Linked DNA regions of Homo sapiens: region 2 is linked to region 1. Evidence: promoter capture Hi-C in 16 types of primary human blood cells and fetal thymus (Javierre and others, 2016). All regions are on one chromosome and are shown on one strand. Each heading gives the region's core, a stretch centred on a gene start or on the middle of the fragment in contact. The rest is flanking DNA. Distances are from core to core; before and after follow the strand shown.

Region 1 (3,830 bases), core at 236-2,735:
GCTACAGGGGCCTTGGGAGGGGGAGAAGGGATACACGTGGCACAGTGGTGTCCACTGCCTCCTTCCAGGATCTCACCGTCACCCAGGCTGGAGTGCAGTGGTGTTATCATAGCTCACTGCAGCCTCGACCTCCCCAGCTCAAGCAATCCTCCCAACTCAGCCTCCTGAGTAGCTGGGACTACAGGTGCATGCCACCATGCCTGGTTAATTTTTATTTTTATTTTTTTGTAGAGACAGAGTCTCACTATGTTGCCTAGGCTGGTCTCAAACTCCTGGGCTCAAATGATCCTCCCACATTGGTCTCCCAAAGTGCTGGGATTATAGGTGTGAGCCACTGTGCCCCGTCTCTTTTGTCTGGTGTGGGCCAGTATGCAAACACTCACCTTCTATATTTCGCTGGTTAGCCTTGACTTCATATGCAATAAGATCTGGAAAGGAAGATAAGAAGTAGCCCCTTTCTTCTTCCTCTGATCTCTTAATTTAAATTCGGCCAGGAAGTGAGCATCACAATTCGTTTTCCAAAGTCACAGGAGCCTGAGGTCCCCTGCCATCCCGCCCTCACACCTTATCTTGGTGTGTTAAACGCCCATACCTGGGGGAAGACTGTGGGTGGGGAACCTCCTGCCCCAGCCCGGGTGCCTGAATAATGCATGAATACTCCAGAAGCCTGGAACTCCAGACCTCATCCAGGCCTGGGATCAGCATCCTAAGTGACTGGTCCAATAAGCAGATGAGCCCTCACCTCTGCCTGTCCCGGGTGAAACGGAGCTTGAGAGCTCACTGGATCCCACCAAAATCACGTCCATGCTGGGCTCGGCCTCTGGGTCCAGGGCTGGGATGGCCGCCATGGGGATGCTGTGTCAGGACACACGGACACAGATGTGAGAAAGCCGTCAGCCCCTGCTCAGATCCCTGATGCACCCCAGCACGGGAAGCAGCTTGCTGAGCAGACCTTGACTAGTTCAGGCCACCTGAACCCCCGCGGTGACACCCACCTGCCCAACCCAGGGATGAGGGGCAGGACAGCCAAGGCCAGTGCCAGCCCTGAGAGGGGCTCAAGGGTCCCCTGAGGCGTGCCCCCCACCTGCCTGGCCCTGTTACAACATGGAAGATGGGGCAAAAAGGGGAGGGCAGGGCCCTCATGAGGACCTGGGGCCAATGGCCGCTGCAGCCCCTGCTTTCCTCTGGGCCCAGCCTTCGACCCCTCAGGGACTCCCATGCCCCAGCCTCCTACAGTGTCCCTCAGGCCCAGCAGGGACCCCTGGGGATGGTCTTGGCCAGCCGCACCCTTGAAGGCAGCATGGTCAGGGAGTAGGAAAGAGACTCACAGGGCTGCTGCCACGGCTCCGGGTACAGCCAGCTGGTGGGTTCAAGGTTCCAGTGGTCCGGGGCTTCCAGGCTCAGGGTCCCCGGGGAGGACTGGGCCATGGAACGAGGGACGGCGCAGGCAAAGAATGAGCTGGAAGGATCCAGGCCCACCTGGGACAGCGGGTGGCCAGAGGTCACCAGGCTATGGGGGCAAAGAATCTGGGCGTGTCCCGCGGGGGCGGGGAGGGGCGGGGGCGGGGCAGCCCTTCAGTGCCGGTTTGCAGTGGGAGGGGCGAGGAGCTGCGGGGGGTCACTTGGGGTGGGGAGCTAGGAAGCTGGGGGACGGGCAGGGAAAGGGAACCCTCAGGTGGGGAGGGTTAAGAGCTCAGTGGGGCTGGGGGATTGGGGTTCAGAGGATGGGGCCCTCAGGGTGGAGTGAGGGGTGGGGTTTGGGGACCTCAGTGGGGAGTGGGGTTCAGGGGAGGGGTGGAGATGGGAGGACTGGGGATGGGGCAGATGAGGGGGGTTTCAGTAGAGGGGGGCCCTTGGGGTGGGGTGGGGGATAGGGGTGGCTGTGGGGTAGGGGCAGGGCGCTCAGAGGTGGGGTTTAGGAAGGTCATAGGGGTGGGCTTCAGGGCAAGGGTGAAGAAAGGGATGAGGGTGGAGGGTGGAGGGGTGGAGGGGTGGAGGGTGGAGGGTGGAGGGTGGAGGTAGGGCAGGGCGGGGGGTTAGGTGGAGTTGGCCCCCTGGGTGGAGATGGGTGAGGATTAGTGGAGGTGGCCCTCAGGGCAGGGTGGGTGGGTGGAGGGCGGGGCTTAGGGAGATCTGTTGGGGGATTAGGGAGTGGGGGTGGGGGTGGATGCTGAGTTGGAGATGGGGGCCTTCAGGGGAGGTGGTCCTTTGGCGGGATGGGGGTGATGATAGGGTGAGGGTGGGCACTCCGGGGCAGGGCTCAGTGGCGGGGGTCGGGGCTCAGGGCAAGGGTAGAGACGGGGTGAAAGTAGGAATGGGGGTGTGAGGCCGAGGATGGGGGTTTCAGGGGAGGTGGCCTTTAGGGCAGGATAGGGGTGAGAATGGGGTGGGGATGGGCCTCAGGGATCTCAGGGTCGGTTGGGATGGGAGTGGGGGTGGGGGTAGATGGTGAGGAGGAGATGGGGGTGTTCAGGGGAGGTGGTCCTCTGGCGGGATAGAGGGAGGGGCGTTCAGGAGCCGGGCTTGGGAGCTCAGTCTGGAGCCCCAGGTTTGGGGGGCAGCTGTGGGGGAGAGAAGGAAACAGGGAAGGCCCTGGAGGATGGGGTAAGGGGTGTTGGGTGGGGAATGTCAGGGCAGGTGGGGGGTTGGGGAGCTGGGAGGGGTAGGTTCAGGGTGGGGGTGGAACGTGGAAGCAGGGAAGGGAGCAGGAAGGTGGGGTGGGCAGAGGGGCAGTGTGGGAGGTGCGGGGTGGGTTGGGAAGGGGGACTTTGTTGGAGGGAGGTTAGGGGCTTCAGAGCAGGGGGCGGAGGACCGCCGGGCAGGGCTGGAGCCACAGGACAATTGTGCTGGTCGAAAGTGGGAGAAGACCCTTGCGGGAGGTAACCCCCCTGAAGTGTGGGCTGGGCCTGGTGACTTCCTTCTGCAAGTACTGCATGAGGGGTGACCACACAGGGGCAGCCTGATGACCCCTTGGCCCCTGGCCCAGGCCAGCGTCTCGGGGAGGATTCGCCTGGGTGGGTGCCCCGCACCGGGGCTTTCTCCCCCCACCCACAGCCCAGCCTCTCCAGGAGTGAACTGGGTCGGAGCAGAGGCGGCCCAGTGCCTGAGCCCTCCTCACTGGGGCAGTCAGGCCGCCCAGCGGGAGAGTCTGAAAAACAGCGGGGCAGGGGGCGGGGGGACCCTGAGGCACTGCGACAATGAAGTGTCACATGGGATCCCGGGACAGAGAGGGGCGGTAGGGAGTGGGAAATCTGAATAAAATGTGGCTCCTTGGCTCTAAGTTGGTGTGTCTGCAGGTTTGTTCATGTAACCACAGTGTCCATGGGGGCCTGAGGGCTGGGTGGGGGTTGCGGCAGTTCTGGACTAGCGCCTCAAGGTTTGTATAACTTTAAAGCTGTTCTAACATAGTTACTTTTTTTAATGAAAAAAAGTGAAGGGAGAGAATACTGAGGATGACAGTGAGATCACTTCCCTGTGTTTGAGTAAAATGATCTTGTTTTCTCCTCCTTTTATTCCAAAGAGCTTTGTTTTTCAGGAGCTCACGGGATTGAAAGTGATTAGAAGGAGACAGCGGGAGCAGCAGGCCCATCTGTCCCCTGACCCCAGCCCCACACCCAACCTCCCCTGCCCTGCAGGGCTGTTCCCACCAGCACAAGTGGAAAGGGGAGAATTCCTGGGGGCTGGTTTTGGCTCCAAGGAGGGGCAGTTTTCTTTTTTCTTTTTCTTTTTTTTTTTTTTTTTGAGATGGAATCTCGCTCTGTCGCACAGGCTGGAGTGCAGTGGCGCCATCTCGGCTCACCGCAAGCTCTGCCTTCCGGGTTCACGCCATT
Region 2 (3,768 bases), core at 1,102-3,601, 110 kb before region 1:
CATATGATGCTGAGCCCCTTTTCATGGCTTATTTACCATCTGCGTATCTTCTTTGGTGAGGTATCTGCTCAGAATGTTTGCCTATTTTTAAATTGGTTGTCCCTTTTCTTTTTGTTGAGTTGTAAGAGTTGTTTGTAAATTTTGGCTCGTAATCCTTTCATGGATATCTCATTTCTAGTTATTTTCTCCAGGTTTGGGGCTTGTTCTTCTTATTCTCTTGACAGTGCCTTCACAGAGCAGTTTTTAATCTTAATGAAATCGAGTTTCTCACTGGTTTCTTCTTGGATTGTGGTCCGCCCCCGCCTTATTAAAAAAAGAAAGAAAGAAAGAAACAGGGTCTCACTGTGTTGCCCAGGCTGGTCCCAAACTCCTGGGCTCAACTGATCCTCCTGCCTCAACCTTCCAAAGTGCTGGGATGCCAGGTGGGAGCCACTGGGCTCAGTCTTGTGTTTTTAAAACTCATCACCAAACCCTCGGTCATCTAGATTTTCTCCTGTGTTATCTTCTAGGAGTTTGATAGTTTTGCATTTCACATTTAGGTCTGTGATCATTCTGAGTGAATTGCTGTAGGGGTGGAATGTGTGTGTTGGGATTCATTTTGGGAATGTGAACGCCCCGTTGTTTGGCTCCATTTGGTGGAGGCTGTGCCCCATTGCATTGCTTTTGCCGCTTTGTCACAGACCAGTTGACTCTCCATGCGGATTTGTTTCTGGGCTCTCTCTCCGCTTTCACTGGTCTGTTTTGCCAACACCCTGTCGTGAGTACTGTAGCTTTATAGTAAGTCCGGAGCCTGCCAAGTCTTCAGAGTTGTAATCTGCCCCTATCAGATGTCCAAACCATGCCCCCAGGGCCCTGAGATCAGATCCCCAGGAGGGCCTGGCTGGAGTACCCATAGCCCTGAGCGCCAGGAGAGCAGGGTCTGCCTGCTGTGGGAGGTCTGTCCTCGTGAGGCCGGACACCCAGCCCTGGTTGTCCTGGTCCACCTGGTATGACCCTGCCCTGTTCCTGCTTCTCCCAAGCACCCGTGACCCTGGGAAGCCTGTCACAAACACCTCCCTGGACAACCCATGCTACAGAGTGCACCACGCCAATTGCCACCACAGCCTCAGGCAGCACTGTCACCCACAGCAGAGGCCGCCCTCACAATCTCACACTTCAGGAGCCCAGGTGGGACGCTAGCCAGGGTCCCTAGAGGTGGCTTTGCCGGCCCAGGCAGCCCCATCTCTCCGGGACCCCGCTGCTCCCTGGGTCCAGCCCAGGCCCTGATTCAGCAGCAGCTCCATAAAGAAGTAAAACGAGAATATTCACGGGGCCCACACTTAGTGGACTCCTGTCACATGGTGTCCAGCATGGCTCGTGGGTGAGGACAGCAAAACCACCAAGAAATGACCCGAGAGGCCAACAGCAGCTCCCTGGGAAGGCCACACTCTCCAGGAAGACATAGCAACTCTGAAACACACAACTTAGGTAGAAATCTAACAAGATATTTACAAGATCTGTGAGGAAAATTATAAAACTTTAATAAGTCAAAGAGGTAAAATGGAAAGATATTCCACACCCCTTATTATGCATAACTCCTTTTATTCCTGATAAGCTTCTTTGCTCTGAAGTGTGCTCTGAAATTAATATAGCTATTCCAGCTTTCTTGTGATTAATGTGAGTATGGTATTTCTTCCTCTGTTCATTTACTTTTAATCTACATGTGTCTATTTATTTATTTATTTATTTATTTATTTAGAGACAGAGTCTTGCTCTGCCACCCATCTCTACAGTGATGAGATCATGGCTCACTGCAACCTCCGCCTCCCGGGTTCAAGTGATTCTCCTGCCTCAGCCACCTGAGTAGCTGGTCTACAGGCACAAGCCACCACGCCTGGCTAATTTTTGTATTTTTAGTAGAGATGGGGTTTTGCCGTGTTGGCCAGGCTGGTCACGAACTCCTGACCTCAAGTGATCCGCCCGCCTCTGCCATCCAAAGTGCTGGGGTTACAGGCGTGAGCCACTGCGCCCAGCCATTGTTTTTATTTTTAAAGTGGGTTTTGTGTAGATAACATATAGTTAGGTCTTATTTTTTGATCCGTTTTGACAATCTCTGTCTTTTAATTGGTGCATTTATACCACTGACATTCAAAGTCACTGTTGATATAGTTGGATTAATATCTACCATGTTTGTTCCTATTTTCTATTTTTTGTTTTTGTTTTTTATTTTTTCTGCCTTTTGTGGTTTTAATTGACCATTTTATGATTTTATTTTCTATTCTTTCTTAGACATCAATTATACTTTTTCACATTTTCAGTGGTTACCCTAGATTTTGTGATACACATTTCCAACTATTTCAAGCCCACTTTCAAATAACACTGAACTGCTTGCTAATCGGTAGCCCAAGTATTTTTTGTTTTGTTGTTTTTTGAGACAGGGTCTTGCTCAGTCGCCCAGGCTGGAGTGCAGTGGTGTGATCACGGCTCACTGCATCCTGGAACTCTTGGCTCAGCCTCCTGAGTTGCTGGGACCACAGGCGCATGCCACAGCACCTAGCTAATTTTTGTATTTTTTATAGAGACGGGGTTTTGCCACGTTGCCCAGGCTGGCCTCAAACTCCTGGCTCAAGCAATCCACCTGCCTTGGCCTCCCAAAATGCTGGGATTATAGGCGTGAACCTCTGTGCCCCACCAAAAGTATCTTTTAATAACAGTATGTTCCCAATTCTTCACTCCTGTCCCCTGTATCACTGCTATTATTAGTTTCACTTATACATAAGCATATATAATCAAGTACATTGTTATAACTTTAACAAACTTTTGTCTGTTCCATTAAGATTAATGGCCAGGCATTGTGGCTCATACCTATAATCCCAACACTTTGGGAGACTGAGGTGGGAGGATCGTTTGAGGCCAGGAGTTCAAGACCAGCTTGAGCAACATAGTGAGAGCCCATCTCTCCAAAAATTAAAAAACGAGCTGGGCATGGTAGTGTGCACCTGTGGTCCCAGCTACTTGGGAGGCTGAGGTGGGAAGATCGCCTGAGCCCAGGTGATCAAGATTGCAGTGATTACACCATTGCACTCCAGAACAAGACCCTGTCTCAAAAAAAAAAAGAGTAAGAAAAATAAAAGCTTTTATTACCTTTCTTATTCCTTCTCGATCACTCGTGCCTTTCTTTATGTAAATCCAAGTTTCTGACTTGTACATTTTTTTTCCTCTCTAAAGAACTTTTAACACCTTTTGCAAAGCAGGTCTACTAGTAACAAATTCTCAATTTTTGTCTAAGTCTATTTTTCCTTGACTTTTGAAGGATAATTTCGCTGGATACAGAATTCTAGGCTTGTGGATTTTTTCTCAACACTTTAAATATTTCAGTCCACTGTATTTTTACTTGCACAGTTTCTGTAAAGTCAAAACTAATTCTATAAGAAATGAATGTATTCTTTGTCTGTAGTTTAGGTGTTCCTCCCCACCCGCTGCTGGCTTCTTTCAAGATTGTTTCTTTAACTTTCTGCAGTTTCAATACCAAATGCCTAGGTGTAGATTGGGCATGATACCGCTTTTAGCCTGCTCTAAAACACAAGCAGGACTTGGTGCCTGGACAGGCACCCAGCAGGGGAGACAGTTCCAGGACTCACCCCAGCTGCTGCGAGCGTTTCCCTGCAGGAATGGGATGTGGCTGGGGAAGGGGTGTGGCTGTGGAAGAGGTGTGGCTGCGGAAGCCTTCCAGGCTCCTGCTGGGTCTGGAAGTGCTCCCTACCCCCGTGTCTGTGTTGCTTTCCTGGG

What was found. Contacts are between HindIII fragments. The CHiCAGO score rates a contact against its expected background, and 5 or more counts as called.
Region 2: a contact is called between a fragment that was not itself captured here and the fragment with the promoter of DNMT3L in region 1, in 3 of 17 cell types (M2 macrophages, M0 macrophages and endothelial precursors). The highest score is 7.5, in M2 macrophages.

The regions. Positions count from the first base shown.
Region 1 is chr21:44,260,412-44,264,241 of GRCh38, forward strand. It overlaps DNMT3L (DNA methyltransferase 3 like), which reads right to left and starts at 1,486. Exons shown (of 12, transcript NM_175867.3): 1 at 1,329-1,486; 2 at 743-855; 3 at 384-428. The coding sequence starts at 848. RefSeq lists an enhancer at 1,201-1,760. The HindIII fragment of the contact is 9,625 bases long and covers 1-3,830 here.
Region 2 is chr21:44,149,686-44,153,453 of GRCh38, forward strand. No RefSeq gene overlaps it. Among named protein-coding and RNA genes, the nearest start is that of LINC01678, 8.3 kb to the right of the region's middle. The HindIII fragment of the contact is 1,519 bases long and covers 1,593-3,111 here.